2 separate regions of the Homo sapiens genome follow, and region 1 is linked to region 2. Evidence: promoter capture Hi-C in 16 types of primary human blood cells and fetal thymus (Javierre and others, 2016). All regions are on one chromosome and are shown on one strand. The core of a region is centred on a gene start or on the middle of the fragment in contact, and the rest is flanking DNA. Distances in the headings are between cores, read along the strand shown.

Region 1 (4,161 bases), core at 471-2,970, 290 kb after region 2:
GACTGTTGTTCTCCTTTATGTCACTAGAAACAAAGCAGGAGAGATTTTTCATTTGTCTACTGTCAATGCCAAATACTCTATATATCCAGACTTCTAAGACCTGACCAAAAATAAACTTTCTACAGAATTTTGCGTTGCAAACTTGGGAAAGAGTGAGACTGTGTACGCACGAGAAAGAGAGAGAGATTGGGGGTGCGTAGTGCGTGCCTGTAGTCCCAGCTACTCAGTGGGTTGAGCTAGGGGGATCGCTTGAGCCAGGGAGGTCAAGGCTGGAGTGAGCTGTGATTGTGCCACTGCACTCCAGCCTGGGTGACAGTGAGACCCTGTCTCAGGAAAAAAGAATGTGTACGGCTTTCTTTTGGGAGGTTTTATATACCATAGCCAGCATATTGTGAGAGCTGAGTTAACATGAAATAATAAAAATAAAATTCATCTTTCCTCCCACGCTCTGAGAATCCTTCATAATAAAAGCTGAAATTTATAGTCTCAATATTCTTCCTATGAGTCATTATCCTGCTCTCTTCACATGATGCTTATTAGTAGTGTCATAGGAGCCAGATACTCAGCCAGGTGCCTTTTACACTGTCAGGGCTTGGGCCAGAACCAGTGCTTTTCCTCCCAGAAACACCAGTGAGTCCAGAAAGCTTGTGCATGGAGTAGCTTTGGTGGGGTCAAAGGCCTTTCTTTCTGACAGGATTGTACATGTTTAAGGGCAGAGTGCAGTTTGTTTCCTTTGAACATGTAAACAAGGTTTTTGTTTTTTTGGAAGACTCAAGCTGGATATGTGATTCATGAATTGTCTTAAGGCACAGAATTGAGAAGGATCTCGCTGTTAATGTATACATTTAATGTTTGCGTGCCCGTGTGTGTGTGTGTTTCTCAAGATGGAGTCTTGCTCTGTTGCCCAGGCTGGAGTGCAATGGTGCGATCTCGGCTCACTGCAACTTCCACCTCCTGGGTTCAAGCCATTCTCCTGCCTCAGCCTCCTGAGTAGCTGAGATTACAGGCATGGGCCACCATGCCTGGCTAATTTTTGTATTTTTAGTGGAGATGGGGTTTCACCATGTTGGCCAGGCTGATCTCAAACTCCTGACCTCAGGTGATCCGCCCACCTCAGCATCCCAAAGTGCTGGGATTACAGACGTGAGCCACCACGCCCGGCCAACCCCAAAAGTTAAGTGATAGTGCATGTTAAAATCAGTGACATCGTGGAATAAGAGATATACCGGTAGTGAAACATTTGGCTGATATTCATACATATGGATGATCCACATTCTGTTGGAATCTAGTCTTGTGTCAGTGTGTGTTGGCCGTACGAGCCATGTTGCCCATTGGACCTTCCTGTTCCAATAGTGAGATTGTCACTCTACCATGGGCCACATGTTGCTGGCCGAAGTTGGGTGGTCGTGGCTTAATTCTGGGAATGAGGGCAGATATTAAAACTGTCCTGACTGTTCTTCTCTTGTTTCAGTGCACGAAGGCAGCCCTCTGGGTGAACTCCATCGCTGTATCCGTGAGGGGGTGAAGGTGAATGTTCACATCCGCACTTTCAAGGGACTTCGGGGCGTCTGTACAGGCTTCCTTGTTGCATTCGACAAGTTCTGGAATATGGTAATTAAGCCTTTCTCAAGGGGCTGGAGAACCTCCTACAGATTATATCTTCTATAATATTTAAAGGACCTGAGTAACTGCATTAAGTAAAACCCAAAAAATAACTTCTTAGAAGAACTAGAATTTTTGCATACTTTTGGGCAACAACAAGAAAAGGTCTTTTTATTGCTTCCTTCTCCTTAAGGCAGTGGCTCTTAACCAAGGTAATTTTGTTCTTCCTTCACTCCCAGGAACATTCATCAATGTCTGGGGACATTTTATTGTCACCACTATAGGAGAGGGTACTACTGGCATCTAATTGGTAGAGGCCAGGGTTGCAGCTAAACAGTCTACAACACACAAGATAGTCCCTCAACAACAAAGAATTATCCAATCTGAAAAGTCCTTAGTGCCAGGGTTGAGAAACCCAGCCTTAAGGACCAATTATTTTATCGGTTTAGTAATTTTTAGTTGATTTTCTACCAACCATTCTTTCATTAATTAAGAAAAACATTTATTGACTTCCCATTTTGGCTGAACCCCATGCTAGGTGCAAAAGTTTCAGAAAGGAACTTGCACTTTACAGTACATGGGAAGGTAAATAAGGATAGAGGTGAAGCAGACATCAGTAAACAAAGCATTTTGCATGATGTCTTTTTTTTTTTTTTTTGAGACAGTGTTTTGCTCTTGTCACCCAGGCTGGAGTGCAGTGGCACAATCTCAGCTCACTGCAACCTCCGCCTCCTGAGTAGCTGGGATTACAGGCCCCTGCCACCATGCCCAGCTGATTTTTGTATTTTTAGTAGAGACAGGGTTTCACCATGTTGGCCAGGCTGGTCTTGAACTCCAGACCTCAGGTAATCCGCCTGCCTCAGCCTCCCAAAGTGCTGGGATTACAGGCATGAGCCACTGCGCCCGGCCACATGGTGGTTTTATAATGAGGGAGTGTGCCACACTTCCTAGCCTTCTAGAGGCTTACTTTTTTTCTAGACATTTGTAGGAGAGAAGGGATATGTAATAGCACAACTATAATTTGAGGTAGTTAAGAACTACTAGGCTGCACGCGGTGGTTCACACCTGTAATCCCAGCACTTTGGAAGGCCGAGGCAGGCGGATCGCCTGAGGCCAGGAGTTCAAGACCAGCCTGGCCAACATAGGGAAACCCCCATCTCTACTAAAAATACAAAATTAGCCAGACATGGTGGCACAAGCTTGTAATCCCAGCTACTCAGGAGGCTGAGGGAGGAGAATCACTTGAAGCTGGGAGGCGGAGGTTGCAGTGAGCCGAGATCATGCCACTGCACTCCAGCCTGGGTGGCAGAGCGAGACTCTGTCAAAAAAAAAAAAAAAAAAAAAAGAACCACCAGAGCTTTCTGGTGTTTCTTTTCCATATGGTCTTCTATCTCCAACTTTCCTTTTCCCTGTGCTTTATCCCCATCCACGCATCCTCCTGGATAAGAACAGTAGCTGCTAACATATATTGAGTACCTGCTATGTGCCAGGTACTATACTGAGGGCTTCATATATTATCTCAATGAATGAGTTGTGGGTACTATTACTGTTCCATTTCACAAATGAAGAAATTGATTCTAGAGAGATTGGAATGTTGGTCGCAGATCACACTGTTAGTAAGTGGAAGTGCCAAACTTTTTCCTCGGCCTAACTCCTAAAACCATGTTTTTAACCATTAGGGAATTTGAATCCTAGCATCATCACTTGGTAACTGTGTGACTGTAAGCAAGATAATTTCTCTGAGCCTCAGTTTTCTCATTTCCAAAATGCAGGGAAAAATGTTTTATTATGATCTTTTTACCTTTGAAGAATTGAAGAGAATGTGTTAGATGATAGTGGTGATTATAACAGTACTGTCAGCTTCTATTTGTAGGGTGATTTACACTTTTCAAAGGAATTTGTCTTGTACTTCTCATTTGGTCCTAACAGCTGTCCTGTCGAGGTTGCTCTCGGTGATGAGAACTCACCAGCAATTCTGTGTGTAACCCTGGTTAATCTCTGTTAATTGCTTTCATAAGACATAGAAACTGAAGCGGGTAAAGAAGCAGTAATGTTCCTCAAAGTGGGATCTAAAGCCATCCTGCATCAGAATCACCTGGGGCTTCTGGTTGAAACAAAAGGTTCCTGGGCTTCATCCCAGACCTACCAAAACAGAATCTCCAGCAGAATAGCTTTGGGTTCGTATTTTAATAAACCTCCTAGATATTCTTGCACACTGAAATTTAAGACCTTCTACCATGCAGTCATAAAGGCCCTTACCATCCATAGGTGAAACCCATCTTATATGGTGATAGCAGCTTAAAAATATTACACAGAAGGTACCAGGTGTCACCATTTTCTTCTGCCTAGGAGCTGAGTCATCTGTTAAGTGTAGTTCTGCTCTGAATAGATGTTACTCTGCCTTTTTTTTTTTCCCTGAAAAAGCTATACAAATAATAATTTTAATTCTGTCTAATGTTTTTCCTTTTGGGCTGTTCCTCTAGGCACTTACTGATGTGGATGAGACCTACCGAAAACCTGTCCTAGGCAAAGCATATGAACGGGATTCTTCACTGACTC
Region 2 (4,171 bases), core at 1,222-3,721:
ACATGGTGAAACACTGTCTCTACTAAAAATACAAAAATTAGCTGGGCGTGGTGGTGGGCGCCTGTAATCCCAGCTACTCCGGAAGCTGAGGTGGGAGAATCGCTTGAACATGGGAGGCGGAGCTTGCAGTGAGCCGAGGTCGAGCCACTGCACTCCAGCCTGGGCAACAGAGTGAGACTCTGTCTCAAAAAAAAAAAAAAAAAAAAAAGCAGAAGTCTTACTGAGGACTAGAGACTGAAGACAAAGTCTGGGAGGAGTCTTTCAGAGAGGTCCTGTCCCACTGCTCTGAAACAGTGTTTTAGCTCATAGCTGATATACACGTAGCAGAAGTGCAGTATGTGCTCAAACATTACATCAAACTTGCTCAGAAGTTACAGTAAAGCAGAATCACATGAAAGTCTGGGTGCAAGAGTATATCTGGTTATAGATGATAGAGGCATAGTCACTAACCTTGTCAAACATTATCCTATGTGTAGGAATAGGCAAGGTCTAGGGTCATTTATCTTTTAAGAAATATAGTGTCTCAGGCAAAAGTTGTGGGGGCCTTGTGCTGTATCCTGCTTTGTTTTCAAAGCATTTTTCCAGAGAGGTGCACATCATTACAGAATCAAGGGCTTGTGAAATTATGCAGCAAGTAAAATGAGCAAACGTGGCTTGTTACATTTGCTGTGTCTCACATTTCCCTTTCTCTTTTAACCTCTCCCTTCCCCAACCCGATCCCGACCCCTTGGAGAAGGGGCTGTTGCATTTGACAAAGAAATTGATCCTTATGTAGAGTAAGCAACTTGTTTAAAGTCATCCAGCAAATTAGAGGAAGCCCCATGCTGGGAGAACCCATCCTTAGAGGCCCAGCTAGAGGTCCGCAAGTAGACAGTGGAGGGTCGTAGGTAGGAGGACAGGCTTGGGGTCAGAGCAGCTCGGTTTACACCTGGCACCCTCGTTCACTAGCTGTGCAACCTTGGGAGCAAGTGTCTCAGAGTATTTAAAGGACAGTTTTTTCTATTCCTATACAAGATGTTAACATTAAGGGAAGCTGGTGACAGGTATATGGGAACTCTCTATACTATTTTCGTAACTCTTCTATAAGTCTAAAATTATCTCATGATAAAATTTTTAAAAATAACAGTTTCCTCTTATCTGTAGCATGGAAAGAGTAAGGATATCTGTCTCCTAGGAGGCTTCGATGAGACAGTGCCTGGAAAGGGGTTAGCACAGTGTCTGGCCCATGCTGACGACTCCATACATAACAATTCTTAAAAGCTGCCTCCTCCAGGAAGCCGGTGAGCACCACTGGCAGAACCAATCACTGCTTTCTCAGTAGCCCCACACCCTCACTGCCCAGGAGCAGTTTATTTCAGTGTAAAATGCCAGGCGGCTTAATGTGACCACTGACAGCACGAGTTTGATCCTGGCTTTTCTGCTTCTCAGCTGAGATCCCCAGCAAGTTACTTGAGCACTTTGTGCCTCAGTTTCCTTTTGGTAAATAATAAAAGTCTGTACATTATAAGGCGGTCATGAAGATTAAATGAACTGGAATTTTTCAGCACTTAGAACTCTGCCTGGCCTATAGCAAACTCTACATACCTATTTTTATGCTCCAGGTCAGTGGTTTTCTAACTTGCTTTTTACTGTTACCCATAGTAACAAATATGCTTTCCATCACAACGTGTGTATGTGTGTGTGTGTATAAATAATTTTAAAGTGGTAATTTCAAAAACATTGGTCTCTAAGAGATGATCACATTTTGTTTCCCCCATTAAAATATAAGGTACTTGGGGGACAGGGAATAGTCTGACTCATTTTGGTCTCCAATCACTTCATTTCCTTCTTTCATTTAATTTACCAAGCTCCTATTATCTATTCATTAGACATAAATATATATTGAGCATTAACTCACTATGTACCTGTTACCTACCAGCACAGATCAGACCTGGGTTGAATCAATGAACGGGTAAGGCAAGGAAAGGAGGTCGCAGGGCAGAAGGCAGGGAGGAAGGGCAGGAGGGTGAAATGGAAGGAAGGGAGGAAAGGTGGAGGGGAGGAAGGAGAGGGGGAGGGTAGGAGGGCGAGAAGGAAGGAAAAGAAGGAACCCAGGTTCCCAATTGGCAGCAGTACCCACTTCCAACCCCTATGTTGCCACTTCCACCTCGGCAGGAAAGTTGCCCCTTCTCCAGCCATCTAGGTCCCCTGTACTCTTTCCCTGGGGATGGAGCTGGGTGCCGGTGCAGGCATCGGAGGAGCGGTGCCGGGGAACCCGCCTCCTCACCTCTTGCCCCTAGCACGGGGCGGTGACTCCAGAGCTGGGAGCCTGGCAGCGTCCTCACCCCAGGAAGGCATGCGCCCCTCTGCGGGCGGCCCCAGCCCTGGGCCCCCTGCCCCCGGAATTGCCCAAGATGCCGGGTGACTCCTCCCCGGGGACTCTCCCACTCTGGGACGCGTCACTCTCCCCACCCCTGGGTCCGGACCCCGGCGGCTTCTCGCGCGCGAGCCACGCGGGGGACAAGTCGCGGCCACCTGCTCCGGAGCTGGGGAGCCCGGGCGCCGTCCGCCCGCGCGTCGGTTCGTGTGCCCCGGGCCCCATGGAGCTGCGGGTCAGCAACACCAGCTGCGAGAACGGTGCGTACGGCAGGGCTGGGGACCAGGCGGGCTCCGCGCTTCGCGCCCTCCCCTCCTTGCCACCGCTCTCCCTCGCATCCTCTCCTCCCAGGGGGGCCAAAGCTGGGGAGGGGCAGGGCCAGCACGAGGTGGCTCCCACCCAGCTTTGAAGATCTGGGTTCTGGCTGAGACTTCACTTTCATCTTCGCAGCTGGGATGGCTGAGAGGAGTCAGGGAAGGAAAGTATGTCCCCTGGGTTGAGATGGGGGGTTAGTGGGGGGCAGGCATTTTGACGACAGCAGACACCCTGAGAGGTGGTGGGGGCGGGGGGAGGATTCTGTGTTTTTAATGTGTAGTTGCTTCAGGTTTTAGTACCTGCGCAGTTTGGGCTTTCTCTCTGGGTCAATGGGAGGACCATCACAGGACGGTCTTGTCTTTGGAAAAGAAAAAGAACCACAGGAAGGGGTAAAGAAAGACCCCTGACTTCCTATTGCGTTCTGACCATAAAGCAGGTAGTGGACTAGGCCCTTTACCCGCATTATCTCACTGAATCCTTAAAACAACTCTAGAAGGTAGGTAGGTATTATTATTTTACTATCTTGCTATCCCCACTCTAAAGATCCAGAAACTGAGGCTCTGAGCAGCTAATAATTTGCTCAAGGTAATACAGTGAGGAAATGGAATATAGATCCAAGGCTGGTGGACAGTAAAACCTCAACTCCTTCCTTGGTGTGGCTCCACTTTCCTACCTTGTCTTGGAACTGCAGGCTGTGGCATGTCCCTGTTTCTCTAACCTCTTCCCTTCTACAGTGAAGCTTTCAAAGCCAGCCTGTTAGGTGTCTGACTTTGGTTTCCTGAACAAGGCAGGCATTTTCAGCCTCACCTTTTCTCTAGGCCAGAATGTGTTCCCCAGTCCTAGCATATTCTGGAAGAGATAACAGGAATCATCTGGCCCATGCTCAGAATTGGATTACTTTGGCCATCAGCCCTCTGTCTTTTACTTTTCACTGCAGTGGGAGAACTTGACTCAATGGAGGATGCTCAGCCCTTGGGTGTTGCGGGCTTTACTGTGACAGCCAAGTCCATCCACAGAGGGTTCGTTGGCTCCATCTGCTAGAGGTGCACCTTCAGGGAGCAGGGGAAGGGCGTGGGGATGAGTTTGGTCTTCCTCTCAGGAGTCACCTCCCCTAGCCCATGTTCTCCCAGGTTCTGGCTCATTTCCTGGGCTCAGGGAACTCCCCAGATTCAGCTCTTGGGCAAGGAAGCCTGAGCTGGAGAAACAGGAATGAGCAGTGCAGAACAAGTCTGATTAGGGACTGAGATGCCTCTTGTCTCATCTTCCCTTGATTGTGACACGAGTTTTGGAAAGAGAGATATCACACTGCAAAAGACACATGGATGTGCCCCAGTGGGTGCTGGATCCAGATCTTTCACCAGATGTTGGGGTGACTTAAGCAAGCTCTTCCCTTTCTCAGGGCCTCAGTTTCCCCAGAAAAAATAAGAATTTAGACTGCTTTCTAAGGGCTCTTCAAGCTCTGTTATTCATGGGTCTGTGTCGTGGAAGAAAGGTCAACAT

What was found. Contacts are between HindIII fragments. The CHiCAGO score rates a contact against its expected background, and 5 or more counts as called.
Region 1: a contact is called between a fragment that was not itself captured here and the fragment with the promoter of NIPAL4 in region 2, in 1 of 17 cell types (total B cells). The highest score is 6.4, in total B cells.

The regions. Positions count from the first base shown.
Region 1 is chr5:157,749,919-157,754,079 of GRCh38, forward strand. It overlaps LSM11 (LSM11, U7 small nuclear RNA associated), which reads left to right. Exons shown (of 4, transcript NM_173491.4): 2 at 1,472-1,611; 3 at 4,086-4,161. Among named protein-coding and RNA genes, the nearest start is that of LSM11, 8.3 kb to the left of the region's middle. The HindIII fragment of the contact is 2,157 bases long and covers 643-2,799 here.
Region 2 is chr5:157,457,742-157,461,912 of GRCh38, forward strand. NIPAL4 (NIPA like domain containing 4) reads left to right here and starts at 2,472. Exons shown (of 6, transcript NM_001099287.2): 1 at 2,472-2,616. The coding sequence starts at 2,580. It overlaps NIPAL4-DT (NIPAL4 divergent transcript), which reads right to left and starts at 2,359. Exons shown (of 3, transcript NR_136205.1): 1 at 2,267-2,359. RefSeq lists a silencer at 2,366-2,525. The HindIII fragment of the contact is 3,531 bases long and covers 1-3,408 here.